7 separate regions of the Homo sapiens genome follow, and regions 1, 2, 3, 4, 5 and 7 are each linked to region 6. The links are contacts of gene promoters, found by promoter capture Hi-C in blood cells and fetal thymus (Javierre and others, 2016). All regions are on one chromosome and are shown on one strand. The core of a region is centred on a gene start or on the middle of the fragment in contact, and the rest is flanking DNA. Distances in the headings are between cores, read along the strand shown.

What was found. The method cuts DNA at HindIII sites, captures the fragments that hold promoters and counts their contacts. A CHiCAGO score of 5 or more calls a contact.
Region 1: a fragment that was not itself captured here is called in contact with the fragment with the promoter of DIMT1 in region 6 in 1 of 17 cell types (fetal thymus); the score reaches 6.2 in fetal thymus.
Region 2: a fragment that was not itself captured here is called in contact with the fragment with the promoter of DIMT1 in region 6 in 2 of 17 cell types (non-activated CD4 T cells and naive CD8 T cells); the score reaches 8.4 in non-activated CD4 T cells.
Region 3: a contact is called between a fragment that was not itself captured here and the fragment with the promoter of DIMT1 in region 6, in 2 of 17 cell types (naive CD4 T cells and activated CD4 T cells). The highest score is 9.0, in naive CD4 T cells.
Region 4: a contact is called between a fragment that was not itself captured here and the fragment with the promoter of DIMT1 in region 6, in 1 of 17 cell types (naive CD8 T cells). The highest score is 5.0, in naive CD8 T cells.
Region 5: a fragment that was not itself captured here is called in contact with the fragment with the promoter of DIMT1 in region 6 in 1 of 17 cell types (naive CD8 T cells); the score reaches 5.6 in naive CD8 T cells.
Region 7: a contact is called between a fragment that was not itself captured here and the fragment with the promoter of DIMT1 in region 6, in 2 of 17 cell types (total CD8 T cells and naive CD8 T cells). The highest score is 9.6, in total CD8 T cells.

What each region holds. Positions count from the first base shown.
Region 1 is chr5:65,927,471-65,931,317 of GRCh38, reverse strand. All of the region lies in intron 1 of ERBIN (erbb2 interacting protein), which reads right to left. Among named protein-coding and RNA genes, the nearest start is that of ERBIN, 2.8 kb to the right of the region's middle. The HindIII fragment of the contact is 296 bases long and covers 2,206-2,501 here.
Region 2 is chr5:66,145,143-66,148,441 of GRCh38, reverse strand. All of the region lies in intron 1 of SREK1 (splicing regulatory glutamic acid and lysine rich protein 1), which reads right to left. Among named protein-coding and RNA genes, the nearest start is that of SREK1, 2.5 kb to the right of the region's middle. The HindIII fragment of the contact is 2,585 bases long and covers 690-3,274 here.
Region 3 is chr5:59,123,516-59,126,994 of GRCh38, reverse strand. All of the region lies in intron 5 of PDE4D (phosphodiesterase 4D), which reads left to right. Among named protein-coding and RNA genes, the nearest start is that of PDE4D-AS1, 85 kb to the right of the region's middle. RefSeq lists an enhancer at 1-220. The HindIII fragment of the contact is 1,024 bases long and covers 1,615-2,638 here.
Region 4 is chr5:66,161,135-66,164,561 of GRCh38, reverse strand. SREK1 (splicing regulatory glutamic acid and lysine rich protein 1) reads right to left here. Exons shown (of 12, transcript NM_001077199.3): 4 at 2,289-2,453; 5 at 1,970-2,148; 6 at 640-770. Among named protein-coding and RNA genes, the nearest start is that of SREK1, 19 kb to the right of the region's middle. The HindIII fragment of the contact is 2,857 bases long and covers 102-2,958 here.
Region 5 is chr5:67,205,958-67,209,253 of GRCh38, reverse strand. No RefSeq gene overlaps it. Among named protein-coding and RNA genes, the nearest start is that of CD180, 11 kb to the right of the region's middle. RefSeq lists an enhancer at 1,905-3,104. The HindIII fragment of the contact is 3,384 bases long and covers 1-3,296 here.
Region 6 is chr5:62,402,512-62,406,109 of GRCh38, reverse strand. It overlaps DIMT1 (DIM1 rRNA methyltransferase and ribosome maturation factor), which reads left to right and starts at 2,205. Exons shown (of 12, transcript NM_014473.4): 1 at 2,205-2,416; 2 at 2,764-2,837. The coding sequence starts at 2,338. RefSeq lists an enhancer at 1,995-2,284. The HindIII fragment of the contact is 1,140 bases long and covers 1,866-3,005 here.
Region 7 is chr5:59,040,176-59,043,748 of GRCh38, reverse strand. All of the region lies in intron 5 of PDE4D (phosphodiesterase 4D), which reads left to right. The region is part of intron 1 of PDE4D-AS1 (PDE4D antisense RNA 1); the gene reads right to left. Among named protein-coding and RNA genes, the nearest start is that of PDE4D-AS1, 2.2 kb to the right of the region's middle. The HindIII fragment of the contact is 1,101 bases long and covers 1,485-2,585 here.

The DNA.
Region 1 (3,847 bases), core at 1,104-3,603, 3.5 Mb before region 6:
AACTTCACAATGCTGTAAACGTACCTTTCTCACGCCTTCTGGGATACCAAAGAACCAAAAACAGCTCATTATGTACATAAGTAAATGGGCTCTGAATAATAATGGCCCTAAAAGTGAAGTCCCCAGACTCTGTCATACCTGTTGTGATTAAGGAGATGTCATTTTTTATTTTCTAGTTTTTCTACTACATTCAATATGCTTTTAAAGCTATAATAAATAACCTCCAGATAAGTAGAGTCTTATTAAGTGAATTTTTAGATATTCTCCTTTTCTATCGTCTTCCACAAAGTGAATTTTTAGATATTCTCCTTTTCTATCGTCTTCCACACTATCACTTAAAGCCTGGCAAGACCTTCATTCAATGGTGTCTGGAACAAAATTTGAAGTGACAAAAATAGAGTGATAGAGTACTATTGTGCTTATTTCATGAAATCAAAGAAAGATAATTTCAAAATTTTAGGGATTCTGTGTCAGAGAAGACATCTAACTTGAAAGGTAGGACAGAAGAGGAAGGTACAGAGAAGAAGGAACAGAGAAATATATCTGTATGTTTTAAGAGGCCAAAAGTATAATAAAACAAGAAGGTAGAGAGGGTTACAAAGTCTTAATACATAAGAATAAATAACAACCTGGTATTATCTTAACAGTCAATTTTAAGAACACTAAAGAGAAAAAGGAAAACTGAGAAAACAAAGTATAAAACAAACAATGGCCGGGAGCGGTGGCTCATGCCTGTAATCCCAGCACTTTGAGAGGCCGAGGTGGGCAGATCACGAGGTCAGGAGATAAAGACCATCCTGGCTAACACGGTGAAACCGCGTCTCTACTAAAAATACAAAAAAATTAGCCGGGCACAGTGGCGGGCGCCTCTAGTCCCAGCTACTCGGGAGGCTGAGGCAGGAGAATGGCGTGAACCTGGGGGAGGCGCAGCTTGCAGTGGGCCAAAATCTTGCCACTGCACTCCAGCCTGGGCGACAGAGCAAGACTCCATCTCAAAATAAACAAAGCAATATACTGATGAATATAAAGTTAAAATACCAGCATGTACACTTAGTTGAAATGCAAAGGGGATATTCAGAATTAAATGGGCTAATAAAATAAGATCAGATAAACTTTTTCCACTGCATGTTTTGAACAGTTTTTTGAGGTGATAAACATAGACTAACAGTTTGGAAAAGAGGGAAATGGCAAAATATAATTAAGAACGACCAACTGAACACAGAGAAAATAAGGCTAGGTAAATGAAGCTAACTATAAATATAGGAAGCTAAGGGAATCAGAAGAGAAAGCTGAATAGCAGCTAAGTTTCTTTTTTACAATTAGGAAACCTAAGAAGAGACAGCTAAAAAGTGAATCTGAAAAATGGGAGTTAGCAGTAGGCCGGGCTCAGTGGCTCACACCTGTAATCCCAGCACTTCGGTAGGCCAAGGTGGGCAGATCACCTGAGGTCGGGAGTTCGAGACCAGCCTGGCCAACATGGCAAAACCTGTCTCTACTAAAAATACAAAAATTAGCTAGGCATGATGATGTGCGCTTGTAATCCCAGCTACTTGGGAGGCTGAAGCAGGAGAATCGCTGGAACCCGGGAGGTGGAGGTTGTGGTGAGTCGAGATTGTGCCACTGCACTCCAGCCTAGGCAACAGAGCAAGACTCCATCTCGAAAAAAAAAAAAAAAAAAAAGAGGAAAAGACAAAGACATCTTTAGAGGTTTATAATAGAGATGTATTCCCAGAAAAAGAAAACGGAAGCAAGCATGTAACAAATTCAAGAAATGAATGAGCAAGGCAAAGAGTCAAAATGCAAGCAGCCAAGTAGGGTATGTAAGGAGAATCTGGATAAGCAGCAATTACGAAAAATAAAAAAGAAACTGCTACCCAGCATCACTAAAATTCTGCATAATCCCAAATACTCTGTAAGTACTGCCATAATCTATTTCCAAAACAAAAGCAGCTTAAAGTCTAAATCGTATTATCCGTAAGCAATTATTTCAAATAAGTAATTTTGAAATATACACCTATTTTCTGAAACTTTTAACTATTTCTTAAAGGGTATTATTTACTACTAATAGTGCAATACCAACAATGTGTAAAATAATCGATTTTTGAGATTTGCCAATGATATATGTTAATGTATCTATAGTTATCACTTCATTAAGAAACAGCATACAATAAAAATTTGGTTTCCATGTTTGTACCTCTGTAAGCTTTTTATACATAAAGTTTACAATAGTTTGATCTCAAATGGCAAGGAGACCTCGTAACAGTACTACTTGAATCAGTTGAAGTCCTGAAAATTCATGATTACCTTCAATAAACAGAGCCTTTAAGTGTGTATTTTGTGCAATATAGACTTTGGAAGTACTCTCTATTTGCCAATTTAATCTTTGAAAATCCACACCATACTAGAAGAATATCCAAATTTTGAAGCCATTTAAAAATATTTTAACGGATGACTCCTCTATTAACCTCTTTTCAAACCTTTGTCACAGTTTAAACAAAGCTTCGAAAATACTTATAGTTTCACAATAGTATAAAACCTAAAATTTAAGTTAATTCGGTGATAAACTAACAGAATTCCAAGAAAACTACGAAGTAAATTATGCCTTGTTGAGGAGAAAAAAAAGAAACACAAAGGTGAACACCTCACTTCATAAAACGTGTTGTCTGCATCGAAACATACTACTCTTCTCCTGAGAAAAAAAATCAAGAACTAAATCTAAAAATAGAGGCTTAAATAGTCATTTTCAAGTGCTACAATACTTTTTTTATACAAAATTTACTAATAAATAACCATCTTCATAAAGCGATAATTCTCTGTAAGGGACTTGCTCTATTAAGGTTTTGTTGCTTTTGAAGCCAAGTATAAGCCATATAAGGAAACTGAAGTTCAATGCCATTTATTTTGTTCACCTCTTTCAGATGCCCAAGAATAACCTCTTTTGCAGCCTAATGATACGTTCCAAAATCATAAAGTAGATGAGTTATGCACTTTAAATTCTTTGATAAAGCTAGTTTGACTTAACAAGAATTATTCCATGGTTCACAAATCTTACCAACAATGAAAAAAAAAAAGAATCTCCTGAGACCATGCCCCGGGGAGGAAAAAAAAAATCAAAACTACAGTAATAAATAAAGGACTGCCTTTGGAGATGTACTTAATGAAGCTGAAGTAGCAAAGAACAAATTGTGAAATAATTTGATCCTGATCTTTAAAACTTATTTTTTCTCTTTGAACTAAAGAAAATCAACTCTCTCCTCGGGTTTCCGGTCATTACGTGAGACAGCATAGGCAATCTAAACATCAATATATATTTAGGATATACCTACCAACAGGATTACCAAATTTATTCAATATATATTCAAAAGTACAGTATTGTATTTCACCTCCCTGTACCGCAAAAATACCGGGAAAAAAAGTAAACAGAAAAAGACTAAAACACCACTGAAAAAAACTTTGGGTTTACTGCTATCAAAACTAGTCCCCATTGGTTCAGAAGTGTTCATAGCTCTGACTGGTGGAATGTCTGCCATGCTTCATGAATCCTGCCCCCACAGATGTAGGCAGAACCTATCACTATTTATGCAGAACCGACCAAAAACATTTGGGACAACACAAAAATGTAAAGACCATACTACTCGAAAAGCACAGCTTTTTATCACAATCACTGTGATTCCCTTGAAAATCGTTTTAAGCGTTTTACTTCCCCTCCCATCGTCTGTTCTGAACTGTACAGAAGTCCTATTAAACGTCTTACAGGTTGTTAATGTTGTTTAATTATCTCTCCCTATTCTTAGTCCTTACTCCTTTTTTCTTCGTAATGGATCAGTTACAAGAAAAGCCTAGTCGA
Region 2 (3,299 bases), core at 733-3,232, 3.7 Mb before region 6:
GGCATCAATTAAATTTCTTGGCCCTAACTGGTTATTTTGTCTTTTATTAAACATAATGATAGCACTATACAATATTTTTAAAACCAATGAGGTAATAATATGTCCAGTATTTTATCAGTACATTAATACACATCCTTTAGAGGACAGAGGACCTACCAAAAAAGATATGCCAAAACATGAGCGAAGCATACAGTATCATGTACAAAAATATTAGTTGGTGCATTATTTATAACAGGGTTTCTTCACTGGGCTTCAGTGGCCCTATGGATTAGCACAATTCATCCTGTTTAAGACTACTTATAAGTTGCTAACATTTACCCACTAAATGCCAACAGGCCCTCTAATCATTGTTGACAATCAAAAAGACACACCTCCCAATTTCTAGCTAAAATCCACTAATTTGTAATACCAAAAAAAGCAATCAAAATATCCAACAATAGAATTTCAAAAACACACAATACACTCAGAAATTACTAATCTCTAAATATTACTATAAATAAGACAGCAATATGGAAAATGCTTATGACAAAGTGAAAAAAGTAAAATAACAGTGTGATTCCTTTGATTACGCTATATTACATATATTACATAATGATAGCACTATACAATTATTTTTAAAACCAATGAGGTAATATGTCCAATATTTATTAACGCATGTGAAAAGGACTACAGGGAAATGGAGAGAAGCTTTGATAGAGTGGTGGGATCACAAGTGCTGTTTCCTTTTCTCTATTTTCTATAAAGTGGCTTTAGTGGTTACATTTTTTTTAACTAAATAAACTTAAGTAGTTGACAGATTTTTCCATTCTTTCTTAGAACTTTAGAAGACCAGAGAAGTGACGGAAATCAACAAGCAAAAAAAATCAACACAGGAAAAATGTCTAGTGTTACAAATCAGGGTAGGCTTACCCTTCAGGTTTTAGTTACTTGAAGGGGGTCACGGGGAACTTACAGGGTGCAGATAATCCTGACTGTGTGCTGGTTATATAGGTATGTTTACTTTGTAAAGATTCATCAACCTGCGCTTACGACCTGTGCACTTCTCTGTAGGTACATTAAACCTCAATGAAAAATTTACTGAAAAAACAACAAGGATTTCTTACTTGTGTAAGAAAGTTTCACAAGCTGTGAGATTGATTTATTGTGCAAAAAGTTAATAGTAATTCTACATATTTATCAACTGGCAGCACAAAAAAAGGATGACAAACTACAAATAAGAATTCTTAATGCTTACAGTGAATGTTCACAAGAATTCCCTAGCCTTAAAAAATTCTTAACGTTTAAAAGATAAAGATGAAACTCAACCACTGCATCATGCCAAAAGAATTAAATTTAAAATCTGAATTTTCATATTAGCAACTTAAGTCATTTAAGTCATTTTTTTTTAAGAGATAGGGGTCTCAATATGTTACTCAGGTTGGAATCAAACTCCTGGGCTCAAGCTGTTCTCCCACCTCAGCCTCCTGAGTAGCTAGGACTATAGGTGCACACCACCACACCTGGCTCAATCATAAAATTTTAATGAGAAACTATTTTCACATTCTATTAATGTATTTCCAATATACCTGGAAATATGTATTTGAAAATAAATATATTTCCAATTTTAAAACAATTTAAATTTCTACTCAACTCTAAAGATGTCATAAAATAATTTATGTGACACTGCAAAACAATATATTTTCAATACAACTACTACTATTGCATTTTGTATCCATTTCAGTCCAAATTTGCAAACACGTCTTCTAATATAAGGACCAGGCAATGACAACTTCATTACGAAGCAGAAAACCTGTGAATAAAGCATGTCAGTATTGCTGCAAAACATGAATGAGGGATCTAGTATTGCACTTAGGGAAAAACTAGTTAAGGATTTTGCCTGGCCTATATATATTACACGTATGCAACAATTTTGCTTAATGTGTTACAGTTTGTGAAATACACTACCGTAATCTTCCATATGTTTAAGTGAAGAACTTTTTATTCTCTTTGACTTTTAAATTCCAAGTAATAACATCTGATTTCAAAAAAGTGGCCCATTACTGTCAGTTATGGCAATGTGTTGTCACCCAAACCCAGGTTTCAACCAAATAAATATTATGTTGATAATGAAGAACATTCTCCAATATATTTCTTCTACCTATGAGATACCTTATTACCACAGCCTTGAAAGCAAGATTTACAAAGGTTCATGTACAAAGTATTTTACTGATTGATTCCAATGCCTGCAGGATACGGCACTCCCCCAAACAATTCTCAATTATTCTCAACTATTAAGAAATGTTCTGAGAACTTAAATTGAGATGGCTGAAAGCATTTCCAAAAGTTAAGATAATTAAAGCAATAATGCCACGGTTAATCAATCAAAATGTACGTGCGTGCACTTATGCAGTATTCTCGTCAAAAATGTATTACCTGAATCTCGTCACGAATATAAAGATATATATATACACATATCTCTATATACCTCATCTATATATCTCATCTATATAAACTCAGATTATGAGTCATATTACAAGACAAAATGAACTACAAAACAAAATATCAATGTCACGACTTTAGAATCTTTAAAAGGGGACGGGACTGTCCTAGATTAAAGGAGATAACTATTAATACATGGATTACTTGGCATATTCAAGGGAGACAGTGTTATCTAATTACATACTAGATCAAAAGCAGACAAAAAAGCATTATTAAAATAACTGGGGAAATTTTAATAATCAACTGTAGCCAAAAACAGACAAAATGCTCGTAAAAGGAACATGGATGTTCAATGTATTACTCTTTCAACTTTTCTGTATGCATGAAATATTCCAAAACAAAAAGCAGAGAAGAAAAACTTAAAAAGTAAATTTTAAATATCCACACAACTTTTATATAGTTATGCAACAGCACTGTTATAACCTGAGATAGAAAACTAAAGAAAAATAGGTCTAAATGCATCACTAGGAAATAAATCAAAATTTTTTTAAAGAAATAAATCTTGGGTAACAATTACCCCTTCCCTCAAAGGATTTTGATATAATGAACAAAAAACGGAGGATCTTAATACTGTAAGATCTACCATTAAAAAAGAAAAAAAGTTTGTGTGCAAGAATGTGAACAACCTACAAACCCCTTGCGAGTTTTCTAAATAATATCGTACGAGGGAAATTTTACCATTCCAAAATACACTATCTGGGAAGTGGCCGCGAGCTGTGAATGCCAGCCAAGATCTGGACTTTAAATGTATACGGGAGGGATAACCCTGCACCGACTTACACTTTTTCTGAAAGCTTTGGGACAGTGTGACCTTTCAGGAG
Region 3 (3,479 bases), core at 877-3,376, 3.3 Mb after region 6:
TTAGTGTAAATTGTCTCCGCTTTGAAATTCCACAATTGATCGAATCCTTTCATTCTCTTTCCCACTCCTAATTGTTCCACTCTAACTCTCCACCCACCGCCAGGAATATGAAAACAACATAGAGTAGAACTGATGATATCAGCTGTATAACACGCTTTATTTTACGGCATTAATGGGCAGCTTTCCAAGTCCATAAAAATCTTTTGCTGATCTGATTTTAATATCCATATTCTTCAGTTATACTAGAAAGAATGATTTCCGAGATGTGGAAATGTTAGCCGGGAAACAAAAGGACATAGGCACATAAAGCAAAATCTGGCAGGAAATGTGGGTTTAATAAATTGAATTATGTGAAACTCCTATTTCAAATGGACTGATACTAGAGGAGCAGCCCTCGAGAGATATGCACAGTAATGATTCTTCGTTTTCAAAGACCTGTTTCTTTTTGAAAAGGAAGAAGCCCTGAACAGCATTCCTTTCAAATACACAAAGGTAGCTAAAGTACAACCTTCTCCTCTTTCCTATTTGTTCTTTAAAAAATTGTAAAAATTATATTAAGTGTGCTTCTTGTGATAGAGTCAATAAAGGGAGAAGGAGTTTAGCAAAGCACATTTACTATATACTCTTAACCCGTCTTGCTTACTGTAATAATCGAAAGAAAGATGGCTAATTGTCTTGCAGGAATTTGGGTTATCCTCTGAAAGGATACAAGTAAATTTGTAACTTGGGTCGTATTGGCTATTTTTTGTTCTCTTTTGCTTTCATTTTTGTTTTGTCTGAGGTTTATAAATGGAACCCTTCTTTCCTTTCTTCCTTTTTTCCTTCCTTCCTTCTTCCCTTCCTTTTTTCCTTTCTTCCTTGCTTTCTCTCTCTCTCTCTCTCTCTCTTTTTTTTTTTTTACAATTGTACTTAAAAGAATAAAGGATTCTGAAAATCAGTTCCAGGATCCAATAAGGGCCTAGATTGTATATCACAGGATCAGAGCCCCTTGCTCTCAAATTTATGATTGTGAGGATGTATTATTGTATTTGGGGGATCAATAAGCAGAGCCAGAGCCTTCACACAAGGCTCCTTGTGCCCCCTCCCCCGCTCCATCCCATGAGGTTAAAAAGCACTGACTTTGACTTTAACACTGTGAACAAAATACAGAACAACTGTTTCAATTCCCTTCACTATTTCTGCTATGTGCCTAGATTAGATGTTTTCTGACCTGTCTCCCTAAGTTGTTCCTGTCACTTGTGTCTGTCATTCGCTCCCCCATCGCATCCTGCCCAACCCTCCCTGTCTATGATTCGAATTGCTCTCTGTCCAGATCATTTCCTGCAGTGAAAAACGAAGAAAGACTTTCTCCCTTCTTCCCACCTACACATTCCTTTTGTCCCCCAAGATATCCCTTCCTCTTGCCTGGAATCTTCCCAGGCCTTAATTGATTGATTTAGGCCCCCTTTGCACCAGGCACCCTAGCGGAAGCCCAGAAAGCCCCAAGAGTCTGGATGTGTTTTGGAGAGCAGGCTCAGGTTCACTGCACACTAATTTGCAGCAGGAAGTGCTAGGAAGCCCGATGAGGGATGGGAATTAGCAAATAAGGTTGGCAGTCAATTGACAGAGGAAGCTTAAGGAAGAGGATCATTTTGAAAAGGAAAAATAATTTAATCCTTTTCAGGTGTGTTAATTTCTTTCGTGGACCAAATTACCATGGACCTGGAATAGTTGAGATTTTCCCTAAGGTCTGGCTGTACTTCATAGGGAAGAAGCAAGGGTAAGTGCAGTAAATTTGATTATGGACACCAGTCTAACTCTAGCTTAATGAGCCATGGAAACAAAATAGCTCAATCTCTTCTAACTGCTGTAATGCAACACTAGGAGCATTGAGAGCACTGTGGTTTTGGTTACACAAATTTGTAGTACAGGCCTTGCCTCAGCATTTGAACATTTCAGCAAGAGAGCTGAACTTGCTTCGTTCTTCATGTAGCAGATATAAGTCTTTTGGAATTAATTTGAAAAAAAAAGAAAAGAAAAGAAAAGAAATGTACCCAGAAAGCAAGAGATCTTAAATGTATCCAAAACCTAGAACAAACAAACATTAACATTTGCCATAATTACTGTGGGTGTTTTTAATAAAAATATATAGATAGATAATTTTGGAGGTTGCATTTCCCCACCATCACTGCCAGCCTCATTTTTCTTCCATCCTCTCCAGAACAACCTCTGCCATAAATTTAGGAAATAGTCAACCTGTTCACATTTTCATCTTTTTACTATATATGTTCTTATTCACAAACGAATATGTTGTAGTTATAAAAAGTCATCAGTATCTTTTAGCTTATTTTTTTAAATGCAACATTATGTTTGTTGGATCATTTTACTCTTGTCCCAGTGCACCCTGTAATTCCCATGAATTGACAGGTAGCGATAGATCAGCAGTAGTAAAGTAACTGATATGGGTAGGTTAATAGAATGACCCTTTTAAGAAGGGATCTCAAAGAGGGAGGCTAGGTAAGCTACAAAATTATCAGGGCGAAATGCAGTGAGGTAGAAGTGAAAGCAGCTTAGAGTCAGCCTGGGCTAAGATAAATGAGGAGTGGAGCTGCAGCTGGAGGAGCAAGAGAATATGGTCTACTCGAGTATAAATCAAGCTTGCTGGTGAGCAGTTTAGGACTAGCTCCTGGTTTTACAGCAAGACTTTTTATGTGATCTTGACCAAACCACTGCACTTGATTGCTCCTTTCTACTCCTTGGTCCTCACGTGTCAAATAAAACCCCTGAATTGCAGAGCCAAAATGCAAACAAATAGAACTCCTCACTCAACCTCCCTCAGTTTATAAGTAAGGAAATGAAGACCTAGTAAAACATTATAACTTACAGATACCTGTCAGGGCAGAACCAGAAGCTGGACTTGGGCTAGGAAAAGTTGTTCCCCCCTGATTACATTTTCCAAAGGTTATACCTTTTCCACAGTTTCTAAGGTAACATGTTGATTGACTTGACAGTTGTAGAAATATTAGGAAGTGGTATAAAGCCAAGACCATGTTTACTAAACAGTGCTGCTCTTTTTTTTACATCATACAGATGAGAAAGCTGGTGCTCAGGGAATTTAAGCAACTTGCCCAGAGTCACGTAGCTTAGAAGTGTTAGAGCCAAGATTTGGACCCCAGTCTTTCTCACTTTCACAGACTTGCTTTTAACCACTGTGTTATGCTATGCTGCCTCAGTATAAGCTCCTTTCAAACAAACCACTTCCAGTCTCTGACATGCAAGCCCAGAAGTTTTCAGATTTACAATGGCATACTTTTTTTCTATCTGCTAAGTGTTAGATGTCACGGTGTCTGCAATGGAGTAGAGCTTTAGAAATGAGGATAAAACATTTGGTTTGATGTTAGTATTAAGAACTCCAATATCCAAGGCAGGAAACTTGGTAATTAATATTTTAAATGGACTGGAGGGGTCACAGGTATTAAAATCAATATTTTGATGGCAAG
Region 4 (3,427 bases), core at 281-2,780, 3.8 Mb before region 6:
ATATTTTGTTGCTGCCGTAACGTACGATTACAACATGTCTGTAATTCCTGTGACAGTGATTTTAAGTCCTTTCTCCACTTATTCTGCTAGAATTTGAAGCTTAAATTCTAAGTGTTGATTTAGAAAATCTGCTCAAATGTAAACCACCTAGATGTTTTTAGAATGGGTTTTTTAATTATTTTCATTAGCAACACAAAAGTTTAAATAGATGTTCTTTTACCTTACTAAAATACAGTATCTGTATTTTTTTCTAAATCACGGGCTCTCTTCTCTACTTCTAAAATTAAAATGTTGAGGAAAAGTAAACCTGCTGAGTCGTAACGTTTTAAATATATGTACTCTTTTTAGCCTTGCAATAACATTTTTGCTTTCAGCAAATCACTTGTGAGCACTGATTTTGCTATGAAAATACAGAGCTGATTAGCTCAGACTAAAGTGCCTCAATTCAGTATCACAGAAAGAGATAAAATATGGGCTAAGTTGTTCTTTGACATGAGTATGCTACTTACTATTTCTTGAGTTTCAGTCTTCTTGTTTGTAAAATGAAGTGACTGAACAAGATGATTTCTAAAATTCCTTCCAGTTCTAAGAGTCTATGATCTTTAAACTATGACCTATGTAACAACGTTATGTACTTACCTGGTTCAATAGCTGCTGAGATAAATGACTGAGCTTCTCGTACTCGCTTCATTACTTCTTCTAACTCCTTAGCTGCAGCCTGAGGTGTCATCTCAGGGGGTTTTACTATTGCATTGTTGGAGTGATTTATTCTAAATTAAAAATATTAGCATATCACAAATACACACCACATTTTATAAAACATGAAACAAACATTTATATGATACACATATTTATAAACGTGAGGACATCTCAGAAGCACGTAAGAATGATATACAGAATAACCAAAAGCAACCTCAAAACCATGATTAATCTCTCATCCCCACTTCCTATCATTCCTTGCGAATACAACCAAAAGCAGGGAGAAAAGAAAAATTGAACCCTAGCTAACTTAATTCAAACAGACTAGATGAAGTGCTTTTCCATAGCTTAGAATTAAAATAAATTAAAATGTTGATACCAATATGAAAATGAATCATTTCTATTTTCAAATCAAAAGATCTTACTGATATCCTGTACACTCTAGAAGAAGGGTAAGCTACCTGTATATCATCATATTATGTACACCATTTTAACCAACGCTGAACCATGGCTGAGTTAGACATAGCTTTGAATGTGCAAGGCATCTGAAAAAATTCTTCCTCTACTAGGTAAGAGTGACTTCTCTGATGCACATGAATGGATATTATGTGTCTTGCTTTACCCCTTCCACACTGGGAAGACAAGTACCCACTAAAAACTTATCCTTAACAGAAAAATCCTGATCAAATTGTATAACTAAAGCAATCTATGAAATTCAAGCAAAACTATATATGCCTCAACAATCTGCATGAAATAGAATTTCTGGTCTGGAGTATCTCGAAGGCCATTATCAACGTTTTACAAACAAGGATGTAAGCAAACCTCAAAAGTCAAAATTTCTGGTTTAAAACATTTCTGGGCACTTATAATTTCCTTCTGTAGATTTTGAATTTACCACAGTTGTTACTGGAAGTACTGTAGTTCAACCCACCTGTTAAGTTGCTCAATTAGTCTAGTGTCATAATGTAAAACCAACCTGACTATTAAAGTTTATGGAAAAAGACCTACAACCGTTATGCAGGGTATATAAATAATGTTAACACTGAATTAGACCCTAGAAAACAGAAAATGAGAAAATAAATGTCTCTAAATAAAGGAATTTAAAGACTAAAATGGTAAGTATCTCATGTATTTCATTTATACTTAACACAAAGTCTTCCTTTCCACAAATTGCCAATTACTATTAAAAAGAAAAAAAAAGCCTTCATTACATCAAAAATACTTTAAATGTTTCAAAATCATTAAAATTTCTTTGTTTAGGATTTCTTACTTCAGTGGCCTGTCTCCAAACATAACTCCATTAAAAGCAAGGGCCCTTGGTACAGAATTTTGGTCTGCAAATTCCACAAAAGCAAACCGAGTTGGCTGAGTCTCATCACCTGCCATCCGCACAAACTTCACTTCTCCAACTTGTTTAAAAAATTCAAGTAGTTGATCAGCTGTCGTTGTCTAAGGGAACAAAGTGACACTTTGATAAAATATATCCATTTAAAAAATCAGATAAATATTACTGTATCCACTGATATGATTTTTAAGAAGAGAAAAAGAATAAGGGCTACTGCTGCTTTGTTTCTTCTTTAATTAGTTACCTGGGAATTCAGATTTCCAACATAAACCGTTCTCCTAATTTCATCTATTTTGGAAGGATCCACGTTTCCCATAAGTGGTGGCTGTGGTATCTCTCCAAGTGTTGCAATGTTGGGGTCTAGTGCTGCTGCTGGTATAGCTCCCAAACTGCTAAGTGAAACACCAAGCTATCGAAAGAAGAAAAAAAACACACAGAACACATATTTTCTATTAGTATCCAAAGATACCATTCTCTAATCTTGAAAAGAATGAACTAACTCAACAAGAATGAAAGGAGACTAGGGACTCCGAACTTTCAGTCATATATATGTCTGAGTTATTAAAGTAAGGTCACATTAGTTTTAAATGTAATTTGAAATATATTTTACTGTCTGGATATTTTAGCCACTTTTAAACTTGACCCTAAAAGACAGGCTGTTTCTCATTACCTGACATAGCTATGTTCTATAGTTTCCGTGAACAATGAATTATTGAATATTGAACCATTATTCCTAGGGAAAATACAGGGTGAAGTTCCTACAAGCCTCTGGTCACATTTACATTAACTAGTAAAATATTTAACCTTATTTTATATGTTCTTCTGTTTAAAGACACCTTAGCTGTTATATATTGTCGATTCATTAACACTGAACTTACAGCCAGCAGCGCTACAATTCAGGCCTGAATGAAGCTTATCTAATACATGTATTTAATATTTTCTCCATGAGGCACTTCACAATCTCCCTGTACTTAGGAACACTACACAGCAGTTTGGCACTACACTTGTGGGCCCATCTTAACAGTGAAATCACCAACAAAAAGCACAACAATTCAAAGAACATAGCACTAAACAGACTGCGTGCTTGTTTACTGCCTGAGTGCCAAAACAAGAAGATTTCGACCTCCGTGCAAATAGACAAACCCCAATTTTTCACCACTCTGTGTATGTCCACGAACGACCACAAAAGTGCTCCAACTGTTGATGTGGGGATTTCAAAAAAATTTTACTTACTAAGTGAATTCAAAAATACAGAATTCACAAAGAATGAGAATCAACTGTACCTTGGTCATTGAAAAACACAGATGAGTATGAGTATGAGTTCCTAACAGTCAACAATTATCATAGCATCGAATTTAACTGAGGTAGTAACTTAATCCTCAT
Region 5 (3,296 bases), core at 415-2,914, 4.8 Mb before region 6:
GAGGTAGCCAGCAAGAAGAGTAATCAGTCAATGATGATTTCAGGTGGCTGTTTAATCTGAACTCACTAGCCCGTGTTTTTTTGGTTTCATTTCTCTCCAGTTCATATGTGCCTCTTGAGCACTTGAAATGTAGACTGAGAAACTGAATATTGAATTTTATTTCATTTTAACTTGTTTAAACATTAAACATTATTACTCGATTCAGTGGTTGAAAAACTCTTAAGTGTGCCTGGAACAACTTGGTTATGTCAATCTAGTTTTTTGGCTATGAATTTTATGAAATCTAAATACGGATCAAATATTTCCAATGAAAATATAGGGCCAAAATTGAGATGTGCTGGAAATGTAAAACAAGCCCTGGATTTTGAAGACATAGTATAAAGTTAGAAGGTGAACATCTCATTAATATTTCACATCAGTTACATTGATTTTATATGATTGCAATAATATTTTGATATATTGAGTTAAATAAAATATATTCCTGAAATTAATTAATTTTTCACTTTGGGGCAGGGAGGACTGCCATGTCATTTATTAAGAGAAAGCAAAATGAAGCAAGGAGCTGCTCTGGGAACACACAGGGTGATGGCACAAGAACACAATAGCTAGTGTGTCCCACAGTCCCGGAGGCCCCTGCCCGCTTCCTCCACCAGGGCCTGCCCAGGGTCTCAGGGTGGCCTCCCTACCCTGCTTCCCTCCAGACCCCTTCCATCCCCTTGGAAGGGCATCCTCCCTCCTTACAGGGCCAGGTATTTTTCTCTGGATTTAACCAGACAACGACATTTTATTTTCTGTTCATCTCCTCCAACCACCCAACTCCCACCTCCTCCCACTTCTCTTCCCTGCCTCCCTTTTGACTGAAGAATCCCTGCTCCCTTGGTCTTCCAGTGAGGCCGCAGTGACTAAAGGGGACCCCTTCCCATCCACTCATCCCCACCCTGGTCCAGTTTCCCAGACCCCGATGCAGTTGGTTGTAAATTCTTCCAGGAGCTGTTTTCTGTCTCCTTTTTGGGAATTTTTTTAAAGTAAAAAACTTAAAACAGAAGTTTAAAAAGCAAAATGTGGAAGAAGAAAGCAATGACAGATTTGTTTCGTGGTTTTTTTTTTCTTTCTAAGGTGGGCTACTAGAAAACTTACAGTTGCATATGTGGCTCCCATTTCTACTGGGCAGTGCTGCTCAGAAGGATGTGCAGGGTTCGCCCAGGCAAGGAGACCCATGTTTAAGGAGATGACAGAGGCTGGGAGAGCACTGCCTAAGAGAAAGCCTAGGGGACGAGGCTGGGATGGGGTCACAGAGCATCGGGCTGGCACTCTCCCACCTCGCTCTGCCCTTGACTCCGACTATGACTAAATGGACATTTTTCATGGGCAAGGAAGGAGACAGGATTAAAAGTTTTCTTCAAAGCATTGGGCAAAACTGGTTGTTTTGGTGGGTTTTTTTTCCCTTCTTCGGGCTTCCCTGATGCCTTCTTTCTCTTGTTTGATCTCTGGGGCCAGACTCCCTAGGTTCAAGCCCCAACCCATCCATACAGTGAATGACCTTGGGCAATTTACTTAGCTTCCTTGTGTTTCTTTGCCTAGAAAAGACTACTCAGAGTCTAGGCATAGGATTACATTAGTTTGCATCTCTAAAATACTTAGAACAGTACCTGGCAATAGTAAGCACTATGTGCTAGATACTCATTTCTCAGACAAGAGGGGGATAAAAGGTAAATTTTAATGAGCTTTCTTATGAAAATGGTAAATGCTTCATATTCTATTAATTTAAAAAACATCAGCAACCTTCCAAATTCAATTCTGCTGATGAAAGTATATGTATTTTTTTTTAAAAGATGACAATCCAAAAAAAAAAAAGGTGCATCTATTTGGGAAGTGTGGGCCATGGCCAGGCTATTTTCTTGTTAGAATTCTGGATTGGGAGCAGGCCATCTCCTGCCCTGGAAAACAACCAGCTCTTCAAGAATCCAGCTCCACTGCACCCACACAGAGCTTGAGGCCTGGGGATAGCAGGTGCCTTAACCGCTTGTCATAGGTCTGAATTGCAATGGAGCTCAGTCATTTCCCGTATCAGCACACCATTTTGACTTCACATTTTGACCTCTCCAGAAACTAGCAAACCGCAGTGCCCCACCCAGCTGTACAGGTTTCTCTGAAAAACCACAGCCTAGGCTATCTCCAAATCAATTCTGAGAGTAGTTTTGTCATGACTGACTCACTTGAAGCAAACATTTTTTGTCATTTGTTCAGTTTCTTTATTGACTCTTGACTATTTAATGTGCATGTTTCAAAGTTACAAGTCAGCCTCGCTTTATACAGCCAAGATATGTGTAGTTAAATTTTTAAAAATCAAGTCATCAAAAAACTTGCACCACGTTTGTTACAGTTGAAAGAAATTCTACAAGGAACTCTAGTCTGTGAGCACAGTCACAAATAATATGAGTCCTTTGATAAATTAATGTTTATCAGTTCTACAAATTAAAAGTGTTATGGTAGATTTGTTTAAAGCAAATTAAACTATATTTAGAAGGTGGGAACAGAAATTTTACAATTTCCTCTTTTTACTTCTTTTTTTGTTTGTTTGTTCATTAATTATAGACTGCAACAGGAACTACAGTAGTTATGTTCCAACGAGAAAAACTATGCTAGAATTTGAAACTAGAATGTTAGAATATCACCATACTTGGCCATTGCTGATGGCATCTCTCTGTAAGGACTTTTTCGCTACCTTGATGTCTGTTTATGGCTGGTCTGATCATGGTATATGCTTATTCTGCCATATAAACTGGATTTTTTCTCTGGTTGAAAACCCAAGACACACCAGTTCTTAGCTTCTTATTTTCTTCTCCATAGGCTCCATATCTTGCATCTCATTTGGGGAAAAAGTCAAAAAGCTAGATTTGCCCTACCTCAGAGGTGAACTGCCTACCACATTGGCCAATGTCAGGGCTGTGGGGCATGTCACATCTCAGGGGGCTGGAGCCCACCACTCCCTGACTTACCTCCTACAAACACATCCCACGGTGCCTCAGCTGGACACTAGGTCCCAGACCCTGAACTGGAAGAAGCTCAGAGCCGGGATCTCAGGCAGGTTTCCTCTTTGATGGTGCTGGCTGCTGAGATGATCAGGCATCTGAGCAACCCCAAGGACTCAGATGAGTGGGCCCCAACGAGACACTGAGGGAAGAAAACAAATGGGTGCTACCTGGGCCTTCCACAGACCAAGAAAGATGATGATCCCACAGAAACAAAGTTCTGGTGAATGAGGAACAAATGGGAAGGTATGACAATGAAAAGCC
Region 6 (3,598 bases), core at 956-3,455:
GCGCATAAAGGATCTTCAAACCTTCTCCGCACTCATGCCCCTTGTCCTACCACCTCCACAGCTCCTTCTCTACAGAAAAACTTGCCTTTTATTTCACAGAAGAAATGCAACCTAGAGGCCAAAGCAGGCAGATCACTTGAGCTGAGAAGTTTGAGATCAGCCTGGGGAACAAAGTGAGACCCCGCCTCTACAAAAATTACAAAAATTAGCTGGACAAGATGATTCATGTCTGTCGTCTCAGCTACTCGGGAGGCTGAGGTGAGAGCATCGCTTGAGCCCGGCAGGCGGAGGTTGCAGTGAGCTGAGATCATGCCGCTGCACTCCAGCCTGGGTGACAGAGTGAGACCGTCTCAAAAAAACAAAACCAAAAAACCCAACAACAACAACAATAACAAATCACACACAGGGTTTTGTGTCATGTTAATTTTTTTTTTTTAAACAGGGTATCATGCTGTCGCCCAGGTTGGTGCAATCTTGGCTCACTACAAATTCTCGGGCTCAAGTGAGGCTCCCACCTCAGCTTCCCGAGTAGCTGAGACTACAGGCCTGCACCACCACGCCTGGCTAATTTTTGTATTTTTTGTAGAGACGGGGTCTCACTTTGTTGCCCAGGTTGATCTCAAACTTCTCAGCTCAAGTGATCCGCTCGCCTTGGCCTCTCAAAGTGCTGGGATTACAGGCATGAGCCACCTCTCCAGGCCATGTCCATCCTATTAACATTTGGAAGTGCCTAGCACAGTGTACTCTTTAGAATTGTGGAATAACAATGATTGATGAAATGAAACATATACTTGAAGATGCTACTAGGGTATACGAGATTTTTTTTCTGACTTAGAACTACATCAAAGAAAGAAGGGCCTAAGACCAAGGTTTGGGAATGTACACAATGAATTGCTCAAAAGAGAGTTAGCTTTAGTAATGACAGGAAGAAGCTATTTCTTCAACCAAACAGAATACACACAGAAAAATTTAAAAGAGCCATTACACTGGCTGGCAAAACAGATGTGGATATTATGGCCCTGGTACACACGGAGTTTATAGTCAGGTACACTGTCCTGTCACAACGACCAATACGTTATCGTATTTACAGCGTTTTGGAGTTTCTGTCCATCTCTGTCAATATAATACACTTTGAAATAAGTTTCTTACTTAGAATCCCTAGCAGTGTTTGATACACAGTTGGAGCTCAATAAATGTTTACGGAGTGAATGATGAGGCACAAAAGGAATTTGTTGAATTATTTGTTAAATGAATCAAATAATTTTCTAGGATTCACGGGCTGTCTTCTGCACGATAAGCTTCATTCTGTGGGTCTGAGTTTCTCCTGGTTCTCAATTCTGTCTTTTTGTGGATTATCTACTTTGTAGCTGGAGCTTTGTATCTGTTTAAGATAATTATTCTTCTATTCCTTTTTTTTTTTTTTTTTTTTTGAGACGGAGTCTCGCTCTGCCGCCCAGGCTGGAGTGCAGTAGCGCGATCTCGGCTCACTGCAACCTCCGCCTCCTGGGTTCACGCCACTCTCCTGCCTCAGTCTCCCAAGTAGCTGAGACTACAGGCGCCCACCACCACGCCCGGCTAATTTTTTGTATTTTTAGTAGAGACGGGGTTTCCCCGTGTTAGCCAGGATGGTCTCGATCTCCTGACCTTGTGATCCGCCCGCCTCTGCCTCCCAGAGTGCTGGGATTACAGGCGTGAGCCTCCGCGCCCGGCTCTTCTATTCTTAGTAGAAGCAACCAGTAGCCCTAGCGAAACCAGACGTTAATTCCATTCTCGCAGTTCTTTTCCCCAGGGCAAGCAGCAAAAAATGCATTCCCACAAAAGAGCAAGCTCATCCCCAAATCCCGGGTTTCCCACCCCCACAAGCTTCAGGAAAACAGGAGCGAGGCACGTGAATACTTCTTTGGACCTCAGCGATCCCAGAACCTAGGCTACTAAAACATCCATAGGCTTAACCTCATCATATAACTTAAACAGCCTTCGCAACACCGAGAGCACCACACCAACACCTTCTTATCCAGCCCTGGTTGGGACAAGGGCTCCAACTCCAGACTGCAGTCCTCGGTAGCGCGGTGTCTTCTGGGATCTGTAGGCTCCCGCGGTTCGGCCTTCCTCCCTCTGTGACTCCAATTCCCGGCAGTCAGTGGGCTCCAAGGTCCGCCCTTTTTCTGGAGGAGGAGCTCAGAGCGTACGGGAGGGGGCGGACCCTTGCCCCTCCGGCGCTTGGGCCAGAGTGGTGCGGGCGGCGCGTGGCGGCGATCCCCACGTGGTGGCTTTCTCACGCTAGCCCTCTTTGGTCCTCCTTGACGTCCCGGGCCTGTGGGCCCGCTTTCTGCCGAGATGCCGAAGGTCAAGTCGGGGGCCATCGGCCGCCGCCGCGGGCGGCAGGAGCAGCGCCGGGAGCTGAAGAGCGCTGGAGGTGCGGATCCCCGCGAGGAAGCTGGGGTCGGTCGGGTCAGGTCTTCCGGCAGGACCTAGCCTGGGGTGCGGACCAAGACCTGATCGGCAGAGGCCGGTCAGGACGCGCTCCCGTGAGCGCGGAAGGCAGGGGTGGGTCCCCGACTCGGCCGCAGGCCCTGCGCGTCGCCGCTGACTTCCTTTCCAGCTGGAGGATGAACTTATAAAGAGTTTGTCAGTCCTGGCGTGACGTTTCGTGGCCCTGGTTGGCGCAGAAATCTTCCCCATACCCATGCAGCTTTCTTCTCTGGTACTGCCTAATATCTAATCTCAGTAGGAAAATTAATGCTGTTTCGTATTTTCTTACAGGACTCATGTTCAACACGGGGATTGGGCAGCACATTTTGAAAAATCCTCTCATTATTAACAGCATTATCGATAAGGTGGGTGTGGAAGAGGAAAGGGAGAGAGTTGTTGGTTTATTAATTTTATTCCTATGAATACATAAGCGCAGAAAGTCTGCCTGCCGTAAATTAGATGCTCTGTAAATATTTGTTGAATGAATCAAATAATTGTCTAGGATTCTTGGGCTGTCTTCTGCATGATAAGCTTCATTTTGTGGGTCTGAGTTTCTCCTGGTTCCCAATTCTGTGTCTTTTTGTGGATTATCTACTTTATAGCTGGACCTTTGTATTTGTTCAAGATAATTATTCTTCTATTTCTAATCACCTTTTTGATCACTTAGTTTTTATGTACTCCATCTATTTATGTCTAAACTACACATTAGAAAGTTTGTTCCCCAGAAAAACATATAGTACTACATATAAATTATTTGGTGTATGCTAGTACCACATATAAATTGCTTGGAGTATTACTGCTTTCTGAGTTATTGATGTTCTCTTATGGTTATGGATGATTGGGTGTTAGGAAGTGAAATACACACGGTGCAGATTACACTTATGGTTAAAAGCAAGGAAAGCATCCTGGAGCTGTAGAAAGAGCATTACATAGTTAAAGGATCTTGTCAGGCTTCGTGTCATTTGAAAACTGAGAAAAAAAGAAAGAAGGGTCATGTACTATTTTAACCTTTTTAGCTCATAGTTTCCTTTGAGCATCTGATGAAAGCTATGGCCGTAGAATATTAGAGCTGTGTGCAGACATTCAATTTTGTGTACAGTTTCTGCTCTTCTGCATCCTTGAAACC
Region 7 (3,573 bases), core at 786-3,285, 3.4 Mb after region 6:
AAGGGGAACATCACACACCGGGGCCTGCTGTGGGGTGGGGGGAAGGGGGAGGGATAGCATTAGGAGATATACCTAATGTAAATGAGGAGTTAATGGGTGCAGCACACCAACATGGCACATGTATACATATGAAACTAACCTGCACATTGTGCACATGTACCCTAGAACTTAAAGTGTAATAATAAAAAAAATCTGGATCAGTTGTTATAATTTTTTTTGTTTTTTTGAGTCGGAGTCTTCTGCTGTTGTCCAGGTTGGAGTGCAGTGGCCCAATCTCAGCTTACTGCAACCTCTGCCTGCCGGGTTCACGCCATTCTCCTGCCTCAGCCTCCCGAGTAGCTGGGACTACAGGCGCCCGCCACCATGCACGGCTAGTATTTTGTATTTTTAGTAGAGCCAAGGTTTCACTGTGTTAGCCAGGATGGTCTTGATCTCTTGACTTCATGATCTGCCCGCCTTGGCCTCCCAAAGTGCTGGGATTACAGGCGTGAGCCACTGTGCCCGACCTCAGCTGTTATAATTTGTATTTTTTTTTTAAATTAAGGGCATACAAATAGTGTCCAAAATAAGTGGTATTTTTTGGACTTGTTCTCTTCATGTATACCAATAGGTCTATCTAGGAATTATGACAAGCCGATACAGTCCTTTAGCAGACCTTCAAGTGTTGGCAAAGAAACTAATGTCCACATAGTTACACATCCCGTACAGTGGATCCTTTTACCTCAATGGTCAACATCACTGTGAGTTGTGGGTAAGAGTAATGGACTGAACATTTCACAAAAAATGACCTCAACCTCTAGCTAACTGCTGTGGCTCTGAGGTGATTACTTTTTTCCTTTTTCAAAAGGAAGCTGCTTCTTCAGCATCTTCTCCTGGAGCCCCTGGCACAGTTTCAGGCCATGTGTCAGGGGAACCTCTAAGCATATCACTGTGACAGAAGCCAAGTGCTGGCCCGCAAGAATTGAGGACTGTTTGTTCACAGAAGAGCCTCAGCAGAATGCGGGTGTTACATAGTTCAAAGGTGCCTTGAAGAAAACTGATGCTGTTGTAGCAGGGGCCTTCAAGGCTCAATTTATTTCTCAGTTGCTGTTCCATAGCCCTCTCCCAGCCTTTAGGGAGTTTAGCCAATAGTTTTTGCTTGGGTGTTTTTCTCTGTTTAGTTCCTTGACTTAGCAAGATTTGGTGCAGTTAAAGAGTTTTCATGTATTTTTAAGGAGAGCCACAGTGTATACTACTCTGGCAGGGGTTGAGGGGAAGTATTTTATTAATGAATGCAGTATGTGTTCTTGGTAAAAGCCAAAATTAAACTGGCTCACTGTTTTTGTCCTGCTAGCTGTCGACATTTAGGTGTGTTGCTTGGTGTGGTGACTCAATTTCCTGTGGGATAGTTGGCAACTCCACTTTGAGGTTTGTTCGGCGGGATGAAAAGGTCAGTTACTTGATGTCTTAGAACACTTGGGGTTAAAATTCCTAAAAGTGAAGCTTTACAAATGATCCTGAAAAATCGTGGCTAGCTATATTGCCTACTCACCTAGGAATTTGGAAAAAAGCAATATTCTCAGCTCTATGCTAATATCAAGAATAATTCTTTATTTGAGCAACAGTTTCACAGAGCAAACTTTACTCTGTTAGTAATTATTTTCTCACTAGCATGTAGATGTGTTCCAGTGATTTTTCATTTTTCTTATTTATACAGATGTTAGAACTTAAAATATATGCTTACCCCATTTTATCATCATACTCAAATCCTGTCTGTCAAAAGTGGCTGGTGCATGGCTTGGACATAAAATGGATATTCTGAAGTAAATTGTTCCTCCTGTCACTATACTACCTTCTTAAGAACAAATCCTGTGTATAAAGTGCATGATGTCTTGAAGCATTAGCCAAAACTTTCCTGAATTATTTTCCACATTAAAAAATAACAACTGAAATATAATGTGTGGAGCCACATCCTGTTAGATTTGAAGCCTGAGTCTGAACAGCTTTGGGAACTTGGTGAAGATGGAGGAAGGGGGCAGTTTACTTAGCTACTGGGAAATCACTTGAGGCTCAGGCTTTGAGAAAGTTGGAGTGCAGGGGAGAGGAGCCACAGAAAGCCGAACCTCAGAGGGGACTCCCAGCTTCATTGTAACCAATGATTGAAAAGATGGCACTGAACAAATCCCAGACACAATGGTTATGCATCTTTAATCCACTGGATAGGCTAACTATGGACAGCTCAAATGATCATAAAACAAGTCAATGTCCTCTTAAAATTTCCTACATTCCTATATTATGGGAATGAGAGAGAGAGGAAAATATCAAAACCAAACCATATAGTAGATGCACTACCATGGCAACTAGGTGATGCTATACTTGCATATGGAAGTTATTCAGTAAAATGAAAATGATTGTGTTAGAGCCATAGGCGAAAGTATTGTTTGTGATCTTTAGGGTGTGGGGTTACAATGGACTTCCTATATTTGTGTGTAATGCTTCAATTTTTATAACAAGCATGTAATATTTTTTACATTCTTAGAATTGGGGAAGCTATACAGAGCAGGTATTTTATATTTACCATTTAAAATTATTAATATCTTTAAGCTTGTTAAGGGGGAAAAAAAAGCTTCAATCTGAAACTTTAATTCACCTGGCAAGGTTTAGGCAGTTGTTTGTCCATCTAAAGTATATATTTACATAGACTGCGGGGTGGAGGAAGTAGAACAAAAAAGAGGCAAATTTTAACCTAGAGTACTCAAAGTGAACAGTAAATAGTTCAAGTATTCTTGATAACAATAAGCCACGTGGCACATGTAACAACTACTTTAAAAGTTACTCTAACTTTTACAAAGTTCACATAAAAAGCTATCTCAAAAATCCCAGGAGCCTAAATTCAGTCCATGAACTTTATTTGTTGTGCCATGTTAATTTATGGAGTCTAAATTTCAAGGGCAGAATTTCTTCTCCAATACCTGTAGATTCAAAGACAAAGACAAGGGATCCCACCACTTAGTGTAAGTTTCTCAGTATCTTCTTTCCACTCGACAATGACAAAGTTTTATCAAATGGACCCTTGGGAGTTTGACTTCTCCTCACTATGAATGGTTTGCTTATTGCATGCTAATGTAGAAAAGTTCTCCCACAACTGATCTGCTTAGGGACAGTGTCCCTGGTGCCCTGGGTCAGCCTTTGTAAACAGAACAGGCTTTTCTGTATGCCTTTGAATATGGTCTTTCCGTTTTCTCAAAATTGTAGTGTACTCTGCACATGGTGGGTAGAAACACCCTTCCAGATTTTCTTCCTTGGCCCAAGATCATCTAGGTCTTATGCAATTCACAGGGGAAAGGAGTAGTATGCAGGACATGCGTAAATTCTCCTTACCATGTGGTTCTTTCACATTGCTGTTCCTTTAAGAGAACTCTTAGGCAATTCGGCATATGAAAATGCAGCCTATTGTCAAATTTGTGAATTATAAAGCGTTCCGACCCCACAACATTGTATATTTTGTTTGCTTGTTTCTGTCCGCCCCAACATTTAGAAGTCTGGTACTTAGTAGGGACTGGGCTGGGTAGAAAAAGAATGCGGTCTTAATTC